Linked DNA regions of Homo sapiens: region 1 is linked to region 2. The links are contacts of gene promoters, found by promoter capture Hi-C in blood cells and fetal thymus (Javierre and others, 2016). All regions are on one chromosome and are shown on one strand. Each heading gives the region's core, a stretch centred on a gene start or on the middle of the fragment in contact. The rest is flanking DNA. Distances are from core to core; before and after follow the strand shown.

Region 1 (6,486 bases), core at 2,953-5,452, 2.0 Mb after region 2:
TTGCTTTCAAGGGCCAGAAGTCAAAGCACACTAACATAGAGACACACATCATTTGCGAAGTTCGTAAGCCAGGACTTGGTAAGGTGTTCACATTAAAACACAAATTCAATATTGCTGATGAACTCAAATTATCTGCCCTGATGATTTAGCCCATACATCATGGAAATAAGGCAGGAAGTGCCATACTCAGCACTTTGTTTTCCAATGCCAATATTGAGCCTGTGGAAGGTAATAGGCAAAGAAGAGACATTTTGCTTTCCAGTGAAATGTAATGACTATAAAATCTGACTGTGTTGTGAATTCTTTTTTTCCCTCTTGCTTATACTTCTAATGTGCTTTATTTTATATATTTGTATAATATATTGTCACTTATTCTAGGACCACCAGAAATATACAGAAAGCATGCAAAGATGATTATGAATTATAAAAGACAATGTGTTATTCTTTATATACTTTCATGTATTATTTCACCTGATGAATTTTCATAAATATTACCTGTGGAGGACAGAAGACTTACTTCCATAGGATTGCCAGAAGCTAAACAAATTTAATGTGAAATTCACCTGGTACTCATTAAATAAAAGATCCATTAAAGATATACCAATTCAAAAAGATTTCCAGCTCAGTATAATCTATTTATTTGTAGAGCAAACAACCATAACATCTATATTTGCTACATGCTAAAAGTCTCCAAGAGGTCAAATTTATAAAGAGTACTCTCAACAATCAGACATTACTGGAGTCTCTGAATGTTTACCTCTTTACTTAATTAGGAAGAACTGCCATAGCTCTTAATATCTAATTCTCAATGGGAAGTTAAATATTAATACTAATTATCAATTTAATTCTAATAGTCACTAGTGACTTGTGCCCCCCAAGAAAGATATATCCCTTGAGAAAATCTTATAGTACACAAAATGCATTTTTATTGTCAAGCATTTCAATAACTGTTTTTAGGTCTGTATAACAAATACTGCAGTGGACCCAACTCTCTTAAGTTAAACTAATCTTGATGGCACAAGAAAAATATGGTGTATGTTAAATTGATTCAAATTATATAAAACTCAAGAGAACATCAGTAAGACTCTCTTCCTCAGGATTAAAAAAAACGTTGAAAGAACTTTGATATGGGCCCTAAAGCCAAAACCATTGTGTACAAACTTTGGAAAAGAATGCAGGATTGTCAGGTGGCAAAATAGCACTGCTACCTAGAGGTTTCTCTGATCTAATTTTTTTCCACTGATACTCCAAAAAATCTTTTAGGGAGGATAAATTGAATGGCCTGACCTAGAAATTAGGGCAGGAGATCCATAATACCTTTATTAAGTATACACACATTAAAAGAAACTCTTTCATAGGTTATTTGGCAAATAGCATCCCCAAAGCCTGCTGCTTTTGAAAGTGAGGATGTACTAAAATGTCACTTTTTAAAAATGTCACTATTGCCCACAATCCCTGGAATTTGCACACACATTTTTCTGTAGAAAGTTTACATTATGCCTAATGTGTCTAAATGCAAAGGGTTATTATGAGATTAGAGAGAAAATTGTTCATGATTGTTCACCAGCCCAATTTGAGTTTTGACCAAGTTTCTGAATTTGTCCAACTTCACGTTTTTAAGAAATGTAAAAGAATGTAACTCACACTGAAGAGATGCTGTATTAGACGGTTTTCACATGGCTACAAAGAAATATCCAAGACTGGGTAATTTATAAAAGAATAGGTTTAACTGACTCACAGTTCCACATGGCTGGGGAGGCCTCAGGAAACTTGCAATCATGTCATCATGGTGGAAGGGGAAGCAGGCATGTCTTACATGGCAGCAGACAAGAGGGAGAGCATGCAAGAGCAGGGAACTGTGCCTTATAAAACCATCAGATCTTGTGAGAAATCACTATCACGAGAACAACATGAAGGAAACTGCCCCCATGATCCAATCACTTCCCTCCCTCAACACATGAGGATTACAATTCGAGATGAGATTTGGGTGGGGACAAAGAGCCAAACCATATCAGATCCTCTCACAAAATGTTGAGGTGGATATGAATTAAGATTCAAGTTCGTTATAGCACTCTCCATATTTTTATAATCTATTTTTATTGCCTGGGCCTTTTATGTGAACCGTCCTGGATACAAGGTTATTACAAATCATGTTTTCAGTTGCCATAGTGCTTTCTATTTTAAAACAAGTAAATGTAGCTATCTCTTTAACAAAAACATTTTTCTCTAAGGAATTGGTAGATCCGTAATGTATTGTGCACGCCAGAGAGGTCTGCTTGATAGGAGAATTCTGGATGGACCAGAAAGAAGGGAAGTTCAAAATATTATTGTCTTCCTTCTATTCTGTTAGTTGCCATTGTCATATCACTTTCTTAGAACTATGATTAATATTTCTGTAATTTTTTGGTGAGATGTAAGTACTGTGAAAGATATTTGTTTTTAATTTTTAAATAAAATAAATGAGCACCCACAGGGAGAGGTCAGCAACAGAGATTTGTGTGCTAGTCCTTGACCTAGATTCTTCTTCTTAGTCATCTTGCCTGTACAAGGCATGATCAACTTCTGGTCAGCATCTCGCCATCTAGCTTGGTGACAGGGTTTGCACAGCTCTTTGGCTTTGAACACACCACTCAGATCTCCTAATTGGCAAGGGAGAAGGTATAGAGGTGGCCGAAACCCAAAGAGGCTACGCTTTCATTGTCTGCTCAGTCTGCTACCAACATTCTGACCAGTGCCTCCCAGACTCCAAAACCAACCCCATGCTTCCGTGGGAGAGAAATTGTGAGTGCTCATCTTCTGACTATGCCTGAATTGATAACTAACATATCTAACTCATATCTAACTACTCCTTCACCTTTTTTTCTTTCTTTCTGGCACCAAGAATGGGGAAGATTCATTTCCCACTTTCAGACATAGGACAGTCAGGGAAGGTTTCAATTAGTCCGTGGTCTAGTTATTGCTTATCAGTGATCACCAAGGAAGCTTCCCTCTGCAGCTGAGTGCTGGAAACTCCTTGGACCACACAAGACTGTTAATGGTGTCCTGGAAACTCTCACTTCACTTCAACTTCCTTAACTAGCTGACATCTGTCATCCCAGGCACAATAACGTTTCCTCAAAAATAATGTAAATGGACAAGAAATTCAAGAGAAATTAATTTTTTAACCATATCCAAAACCTCTATTTAACAAATAGCAATTCAGAGGATGAAAGATGAATGGCACGACTTGGCAGAATTAGACCAGTGCTGGAGTTAAGTTTACTCAGGGTTCCCTTTGAAGGCTTTGACCATATTGCAGGCTTGGCTTCTAGGGGAAGCACTTGCTACCACACTTTTGGCTCCTTTGGAATTAGTGAAGGTACAGGAACTGTATGAGATAAAAGAGAGGCAGACAGCTAATCATCAGAGGCAGTATGGCAAGGTGATGGGGATACTATAAGAGAAAGAAATCATTAGTGGGAAATTTTTCCATAGTTAACCAAGGAGTTTGTGGTATGAATCCTCTCTTCCGTGTTTGCTATGAAATCTTCAGTAATATCCTTACCACACACTACCATATTTGTGGAAGTGGATATTTTAGGGGAACAAGATGAGGAGTTGAATCCTACATCCAGGATTGTTTAGGGCAAAACAAGACATGCAGAAGCCAAGGAACAAAATGAAAGTTCATATTTTGCTTATACAGGCAAAATAAATAGAAGGAATACAGATTAGAAGGAAAGAAATCTCTATCTCATGCCATGATTTTGGTGAAAGGGCTCTTTGCAGATATATACGAATCCCTGGACCAGGTTGATGCAGGCATCTAAAGTGTTCCCCAGAACCTGAAAGTGAGGATGTACATTAAAGCAAATCCATTTCTCCTTTGGCAGAGAGCCCAAACCCAATCAGGTTGAGAAGGACTGAGTCCATTATTGTACACCCTCAAAACTCTAGGATTACCTTTCTGTGTGATCCTCTGGGTCACATATGCTAGCTCATCTTACTCTGTTCCTTTGATTTCCCTGATAGGTAATTTTGTAGACCCCAAGGGCTAGATTGTGACAGTCTTTCTTTTAAAGACAAACACTTGGGTACTTCTGGATGTTCAGCAAATGTTCTTGAAAACACTCTGTGTTTTCAAAACTATCTTGGAACAAAATATGAGTGGAAATGTGTCATCCCAGTCCTCTCTCCAGCACCCTGCCCCTGAGATGTATTGGTCTTGATCCAACTGCCCCTGCTATGTGCCCATTCTTTCAAGGACTGCAAGGGAAAACATGTCTTGGCTTCAGCTGAAGAGCTGTCTCTTCCCAACCCTTAACTCTGGACCTGAAATGCAGGTCTCATCAAACTTACACCTTTTTCATAACATCTGTGGTTGGCAGAATAATGCCCTCCCTGCAAAAGATGTCCAATTTCTAATTCACAAAATTTGTGACTATGTTGTGATATGTGACAAAAGGGACTTAGCAGATGTGATTGAGTTAAGGAAATTAAAATCGGGGATTATCCTGGATTATTTGAGCGAGCCCAATAACAACAGTCTTTATATGGGAAGGAGGGAGGCAGGAGGGTCAGAGTCAGAGAAGGAGACGTGAAGTTGAGTGATGTGAGGAAGGAACCATGAACCGAAGAATGCAGGCATCCTCTGGAAGCTGGAAAATGTAAGAATACAAATTCTCTCCTAGAGTCTTTAGAAGGTACCAGCCCTGCCAACACCTTGACTTCAGCCCAGTGAGACTCAATCTGGACTACTCAGCTGCAGAACTATAAGAGAATAAATTTTCATTGTTTTTAGCCACTAAGTTTGTGGAAATTTGTTACAGCAGCCATGATAAACTAATAAAGCAGTGTGTAGCCATTTGAACTTGGGAAATGTGTACTTCCTAACAAAAGGAAACAGAAAAAGGTAAAATGCGCATTGCTTATTGAACACCTATTTTATGTCAGGCGCATACCATGCATAATCTCATGGGCTTTTTATAACGAATCAGTGGATGTATTCCATTTATCAGATAGAGAAATGGAGCTTTAAAAGTGAAGAAATATGTTCAAGATGTTATCGTTGCCATGTGTCATGCAGCCTGGGCGACAGAGCAAGACTCCATCTCAAAAAACAAAAAAAAAACAAAACACACAAACAAAAAAACCTTTATCTAGGAGTCGCCTTTTATAATCGAGTCTTATATTTATTTACATTTACAGAGCAAAGTGGATTCCCTGGACTATTTTCTATCTCAAACATATGCCACCATCTTGATAAGAGGTCCTCTTCCAGAATTCAGTAAATAAAGAGAACCTGTCTGGTAGCTGTTGTTAGTCGGTAGAAAGGAATATGCACAGGGAACCACAGGAGGACAAGCTCAATCCTATGAGGTAGACGCTAGTACAAACCAGCTTGTGATAGAGAATATAAGACACAAGAAGCAGCATTTTGCTTAAAGCTTTGGATATTTCCATAGCATCCATCAACATCTCAGGATACTTCCCAGGAAATAGAATGTAATTAATATGAAGATATAATTTTCTCAATCGCACAGTGACTGGACTATCTGAGGCAACTATGTGGCAACAGATGGGTGAGGCCTGCTTGGAATCAAGCCAAAGAAGTGAGAGTTGGAATGAGTCCCAAGTCTGTAGCCTTGCCTGAGCACAGGGGCCCTGGTCATCAAAAACTACTACTAATAATAATAATTATCATCTCATTCCTAGTGTCATCAACTGTGACAGCTGATGGCACTGACCATGAAGGCCATCAAATTTTCTCTGCTCTGAGTTTACGCTCCCCAGGTCACCTCCTGCTAGAAGCTTTGCTTCCTTTTGTATAGTTTTCTAAAGGGCAGAGAATAGTTTCAGTTTCTCAGTTTAAATTCTGTGTTTCCATCATGGTCTATACTGTTAGGGTCTCATCTTAAAAAAATAGTTTTCTATTCAGATGTGTTGAGTCTATGGGGAAAAAATCGTTTTCTGTTTTGGGCTCCACGCTTAACCCCTGATTAAGACAACCTAGTTACTATTTCTTCCTTTTTGATCTCCTGGGCCCCTGCATGCTTTATCTAGTGCCATTTGGTTGCTATCTATGGTTCATTTGCCCCCAGATAGTTTACCTTCTATCTAGCTAATATGCAGAAGTTCTAAAATCCTGGACATTTGACTGATTATTGATGCTGGGTAAAGAAGAAGGGCCCAAGTCAATCACGAAGGTGACTGGTCTTTAAAGCTCCATCCTGTAGGTCCTTATAAGCAGAGCATCAACAAGAGGAAAACAACATCCTGAACAAATATCTTCAAATTATAAAATATGAGTGCTAGTTTGGATTTAGGTGCAAAACATTAACATCCCAAGTCCCATTGTGCTCAAGGCACTGTGACATGCATAAAGTCTTTGCAGAAGCTGGGAAATCACGCAGGTATTTGTTTTCTTTTATACTTCCTCCTCTAGACCCTAAGAGCTAGAATTCTTGAAAAGACTGAGAACTCTATCAGTCTCTTGTGAATCTGGTT
Region 2 (6,421 bases), core at 1,858-4,357:
GTATTTGATTAAAAGAAAAACTGCCCTGGGTCTTGGCCCAGCACTATTTCAATCAGGCCAAAATGCCTGCCAAATAATCCAAATAATTGAATTGAATTGAAAAATATCCACCTTTTCAATAACATCAGGAACAAAAGTCTACAATATCCTGTAAACTATAATTACTAATATTAAGGGCATGTCCGCTTTGTTGCGTTTCTTTATTTAGGAATTTGTTCTGTGGCACTCTTCTTTGAAACCTTTGGTTGGAAAGAAACTATGTTCACTGAAAATGCAGCACATTTTGTCTTCTTTTATATGTTTTAAAGCTTTCTAGTTCTGGATAGGTGTGAAGAAGTTGAAAAAGCAACATTCTCAGGTAAATTACGTACTACACAGTAATAGGACATCCTTTACATCATCCTGGAAACATATGCGCTTTTTATCTCACTCATCGCAGGTGAAATTTCTGGTTTTCTTCTAACCTTAGAATGAAATTATAAAAACCCAGGCAAGATTTAGTTTTATTTCTCTGTTTTTCCACTAGTTTTCCAATCGGGATCTCTATGTTGTTTAGTAACACGAACTTCACAATAGAAAGTAGCTTACAGTAAACCAAACCCCCACCACATGCAATTTACCTATATAACAAACTTGCACACGTACACCTGAACCTAAAATAAAAGTTTTTCAAAAAGAAAACAGCACATGGATATAAAGATACATTTACAGTGCTAGTATAAAGAAGAATAATGTGATTTTTATTAATGAACAGAAGTACATTAATATGGTGTCTCTAGTATTCAATTCTATTTGGAAATTTTCCTCTAACACAGAAGCTTTTAGAAAATTCAGCATAAAGCAGCTTTCAAATAAATTGGCATATTTAAATTTTTCACAGACTTCAAACTCTCCTCCATTATAACTGTCTATGCAAAACCCTCTCAGAAAGTTTTATATTGCTCATCAATTTTCGTGTCTGTGCATTCAAAGCACAGCTATCCACCTACTTGAAAATTTTATGCTGACAAAAAGAAAAGTCTGCTCTTTTTAATTTTGTCTTACTATCAGTGTGGTCCCATGTGGAAAGGCAGGCTGCTAAATGCTTTTCGAAGGCTGGTGAACAGGTTAGACTTGCTTACAAGGCTAATTAAAATTGATGCATGCCATCTATTACATGTTACTACTGGATCTAAATAAAGTATCACTTTTCATCATTAATGCCATGTTCCTTCTCTACTCTGTATAGAAGTTTTTGCTTATTTTGTATGTTCCCTTTGGCTACAGACACATCACCCTTCTTAGTAAACTGTCTGAGTTTTTCAGCATGACTGTCTCATTATTTCTGTATTGGAATGGCCTCTTAGCTCTGTGTTTTGCAGTTGTTTATAACATCTACTAAAAGCGACATGAAAAGATGACACAGTCAGAAATACGGTAAAGACAGAAGTAACAGTATTAACTGACCTCATTTAGTTAATAATATGATGTGCTCAGTGCACTGCTTTTAGTCTGTAGCAAACAGCACATTGGATGTTTACACTAATACAGATATTGTAAAAAGAAGAGCAATGCTTCTGGATATATAACCGTACATACACTGCCCACGTGCTTATGTGAGAACTATGTTATTCCGAAGTTGCTTATCTGAATGGTAGGAAGATTTCAAAAAGGCTTTCTCAAGAATGAAATAAAAGGAACAGTAATGACCCTTACAACTCCGAAGATACGATTATAATTCTTCCGACTATTATTAAAGCAAACTCTGTACATCTTCATAATATAAGATTGCCAGTAGTTTTCTTTTTAAAAAGCCCAGCATAATCTCCTTAGAAAACCATTATGAAAGAAAGCCAAGAAGAGAGGACAGGAGAAGCACAAAAGATTCCCACGGGAAGGACAAGAAAAAGGTGGTTGTCAGTGCTGTGAGAACGAGTTGAAAGGCATGGGAAATATGGAAACAGACAAATTCCAATGCAGATCCACTAGCTGGAGAGGTAATTTTGCGTCTAATTTTGCACCTCTCTCCTCGCCTCCCCGTCTGCTCTCCACCATCACGCTTTTCGACAGTAAGAAGGATTTGGGGTTTTGCAGACTCTAGCGGGCATGAAAAGGATAGGGGGTGGCAACGACTTGAATTAATGACGTTCTCCTACAGGATGGAGGGGAAAATGACTTAGTGTCATCAAATGAACTCCCTACTCCTGGCATAAATTTATCAAACTGCAACTTTATCTCGAATACTCTGGAAGAGTAGAGGAGAGGCCCTAGAGAAAGCAAGTCTTGAGGGGAAACGCAATGCTCTTGGCAAAAACCGCACCTCCCTCTTGAACTACACTGACTCTTTTCACAGAGCGCCTTCCTTTAATAGAATCACAACCACCTGGACTACTAATAAGAGGAAGAAGAAAGGAGAAAAGGGAAGGGAGGATGGCAAAAATCACGCTCTAGAAGATCCAGGCAACGTCGTCGTGAAGAATAAAGGGAATCAAAATGGGCACTGGAACGCTGCTAAGGGCTTGCTTTGTTAACACACTTGCACAACTCAAGTTCAGCTCTATCTTATGTTGAAAGTCCTTGTTTACGATCCTCGTAGGAGGTTCTTAAATATCTGCCTGCGAACTCCCAAAGACTGGGCGCTTACTAGTTAGGGGAGGCAGCTGTCCCGGAGGGTGTCCAGCTCGGATGGCTGACTGCTCTTTCACTTGTCGTTAACTTCCACCCAGTAGTCTTAGTCTCCCCTTGGACATGGTACCGACCGTGTGCCATTCTTATTTCACTTGACCGAGCCCGAGCTGCAGCCCAGGGTGGAAGCCGCAAGGGCTGGGCAGAGTTCCAGGCAAGAGGGACCGAGAGGCGTGAGCAGTGCTCCGCAGCGCTTGTCAGAGAAATGGAGCAGCGGCTCCTTTGTGGGCTCTTACATCCCCGTCCTGGGTGCACAGCCCGGATATTTGATCTGTGGGGTGATTGATAAGTGAGGGAGAGGGGGGACGCGATCCCTCCCTCCCTCCTCCCTCCCTCCTCCCTCCTCACTCCCTCCTCCCTCCTCCCTCCCTCCTCCCTCCTCCCTCCCTTCTTCCCCTCTCCTCCCTCCCGCTTTACTTCCCTCCTCCCTCTCGCCTCCCTCCCTCCTTCCTGCAAGAAGCGTTGCCCGTTGGCTAGCTGCTCGGTGGGGATCTGCCTGCCCTGGGGGCGCCGCCCGCGCTCCCCGCGGTGCTCTCGCTCCTGGGCTGCGCCAGTCCGAGGCGGTGCCGGCTCCTTTGCCTCCCCGAGTCGCAGATGCTGCGGGCGCCTCCGGGAAAAGATCTGGGCGGCGCGCTCGCTCGGTAAGTTCTGAGCACTCAGGGACGCGGTGGCGACGCGGCCAGTGAGCCGGCTTTCCTCAGTCCGTTGCCTTTCCCGGCCACCTCTCCTTGCGAGGGGCACCAGCGTGGGGAGGCTGGGCGCCATCCGCGGAGGGCAGCTCGCTGGCGGCCGCCCTCTACCCTCAATCCCCACTGGAGATTCCTCACCCCGGGACCGTCCGCGCGGGCGTGGTCGGGCTCCGCGCCTCGCGCAGCGGGGTGGCACAGGCGGCCAGGGAGGGCCCACGCACCCGGCGCGAGCTAGAAGCCTCCGGTCGGCCTGCAGTGCCCAAGTCCCATGGCGAGGGCAGCCCGAGTGGCCGTCGCGGCTGTAGGTCCGCATGCCGGGCACCGCACCAGGCGTCTAGCAGGTAGGGGCAGGGAAGGTAGGGCTGCGCTGGCGGCCGGTGCCCAGTTACCGGCGATCGGGGACGCTCGGAGACACCTGGTCTCCCGGAAGCGCCCTTCGGAAATGGGATTCGACCCGGCTTGCGGGCGGCGGGTGTTTAGAAGAAGAGGCTGCGGGCAAGCAGTGCCCCCTCTCTGGTTCCCCGGACTCCTCTTAGCCCCCTCGTGGCCTGATGGGCGGCCGGGACGGAGGTGGGCTGTAAGCCCGCCGGCACCCACCGTGTCCTGTGGAAGGCTTGGAGACCTGAGCCAGGCTCTACTCGGTTAGATGCGAGTGAGACAGGCGACGGAGTTCGTCTTTAAGCCTCCCTTGCCTCAGCAAGGAGAGGGAGCGTTTTCCTTATTTTAATGACCGCCTTTCCCTCCCTTGGGGTCCCAGTTCACCCTGAACCTTTCCACAGCCTTAAAAGCCCGCTCTCCCTAGCGGAGTGCTGCGGCAGTTCTTCAGAAGACACGGGGCCAAATGAAACTTACTTAAAGTGGTTATCGCGTTTCAGGCTGATTTGTTCCTAGTAACTACGTTTTGGAAAGCAGCTGTGGACTCTCAAGGACAGGCAGGAACGAAGACCTCCTTAGGGTCCGAGTGTCGCTTCCCACAGTTAGATTACCCATGAATTTCCTTGATTCTGTAGGTCTCAAGAATCTCATGAGCCCCCAACCACCTCCACCTTTCTCTCTGAATCTCTCTCCTGTCTCTGAAATTCTTCGCAAAAATAATCTGTCCTCAAGGAATATTGAAAGCGTCATCAATGTCTTGAAGGAAATTACTGTATCTGAGAACCGAAACTAGTATTTGATGTTTCACTTTCAAATACATTTTTTTTTAATAAAAAGGATACCTTTAAGTAAAACACTACCACTGCTATTTACGTTTAAGTAGATTTTTAATTCATATTAAGCAGTAGTGTGCTTTTTGGAAAGATGATGGACTGGGACTCATAATCCCTGGGTTTTGTTTCTATTTGTAGTTTCTTGAGTAAGTCAGCACTTTCCCTGGTTAAGAAATGACCTCATCTGTAAAATGAACCTGACTTCTAAGGTCTTGTTCGGCTCTCACGTCTTTACTTCAGTTAAATATTGACATAATACATGTTTGTTGAATGAATGACTGAATGAATAAATCTTATTGCTCTAGGAACTATGTGCTTTTAACCTTTGGAAATACATAGAAACAAATGCCTCCTTTGCTAGGAAAGGGAGCTTAATTGTGCTCCCACTGCATCAGACTGCTTCCATCTAATGATGCAATTGCAATACAGGGTGGGAGGCCATCCACAGGGCTGTCCCTCTGCCTCAGAGCTCATCTCAAGTTTGCCCTTCTCTATGGAGAAGGAAAATTTGAGTCTCCAGAAGGAAAGTATTTTGCTAAACGCCAAGCAAGAATTAGAGGGTAAGGGGGCTTCTGATGCCTGGTCCAAGGCTCTTAGAAGAAGAAGAAGGAGAAAGGGAGAAAGCTCAAGAAAATAATGCACAGATCACCAGCTACAGGTGGCCCTAGTGCCTAAGTTTATAAACTACCCCCGCCCTTCCCGGAGAGAAAGGAGCTTGTATAAAGGGAACAATCCTAGAACCTAGGCTTAACAAGGAAGGAGAAGGGGAGAAGCAAGGGTCATTCTGTTCTCAAGTGGTTTGTTGTATCTGTGTGTTTATCTATTCCACATTTGGCCAGGCAGTGGGACTCCGGGAAAGCAAGCTGAAGTGTTTTGTGGGACAGGCACATCATTTGGTCAACTCCTTTTCCCTGGTTGATTCCCTCCTTTTCCTGACCCATCTCCCCCTTCCTACCAGAGGCAACCAAGGCCTTTCCAGGCAACAGCAGACATTATTTACCCCTTGCGAATTGATTCCACAATGGAAGACTCTTGGGTCCAAGGAGCTGTAAGATAATTAAGGAGAAAACAGATAATGAAGGCAAAAATCCAACACCTGGCCATTAGCAATGCTCTGGAAAGGCTATTTAAACCCGCATTGGATATCAGAGCTGGGAGGGCCCATACAGTCTACCTACCTGCCTTTTGCAGATGGACACAGGAAGATCCAGAAGCTAGTGGCACATCTAGCAACAGAGCCAGATCAGAACCCAGGTAAGCTCGGTCTCAGGCCAGGATTCCTTTTCCATCTCCTCTCTTTCTCAGGAGCCAGTCTTCCTGCACCAGCTTCCTCTTTTCTCCTAGCTCCCCTGCCCCTGCAGCCTGGAGGGCTCAACCACCCTTCCTTTGGCTCCCACTCCCAGCTGAGGCTCAGCCTGGCAGTGCTTTTCTGACACCCACTTCTTTTCTCCTTCCTCCAGGCAAGAAGTGCACGTTTAAACCTCATTATCTGGCTAAGTATAAACCTCAGGGAGAAAAGGGGTTTGTTTTTGTTTTTCTCAGTCTATAAGCTAACATTGAGCTGACTTTCAGAGTCCAGGCAAATATGTTTGGTGGGTCACCACCCAGAAAGGAATTCTCTTAGCACTGAATCAGGGCTCTGTATGTAAAGTATAAATCCCCTAAGAGAACTCCTCACCCTCCTACACAGACACATTGGTGCATGCACACACACCCCACTCTCTGCACAGAGAGCATCTGAGCTAGGAGCTGGCAAGTGGGGCACCAGTCCTGTAGCAAAGAGGCACACCACACACACACACACACACACACACACACACTCTCTCTCTCTCTCTCTCTCACTCACACACACACACACAC

The links. Contacts are between HindIII fragments. The CHiCAGO score rates a contact against its expected background, and 5 or more counts as called.
Region 1: a fragment that was not itself captured here is called in contact with the fragment with the promoter of SLITRK2 in region 2 in 1 of 17 cell types (M0 macrophages); the score reaches 6.3 in M0 macrophages.

Annotation. Positions count from the first base shown.
Region 1 is chrX:147,791,366-147,797,851 of GRCh38, forward strand. No RefSeq gene overlaps it. Among named protein-coding and RNA genes, the nearest start is that of FMR1-AS1, 120 kb to the right of the region's middle. The HindIII fragment of the contact is 2,444 bases long and covers 2,981-5,424 here.
Region 2 is chrX:145,814,722-145,821,142 of GRCh38, forward strand. SLITRK2 (SLIT and NTRK like family member 2) reads left to right here and starts at 3,108. Exons shown (of 5, transcript NM_032539.5): 1 at 3,108-3,305; 2 at 5,753-5,815. The HindIII fragment of the contact is 7,249 bases long and covers 817-6,421 here.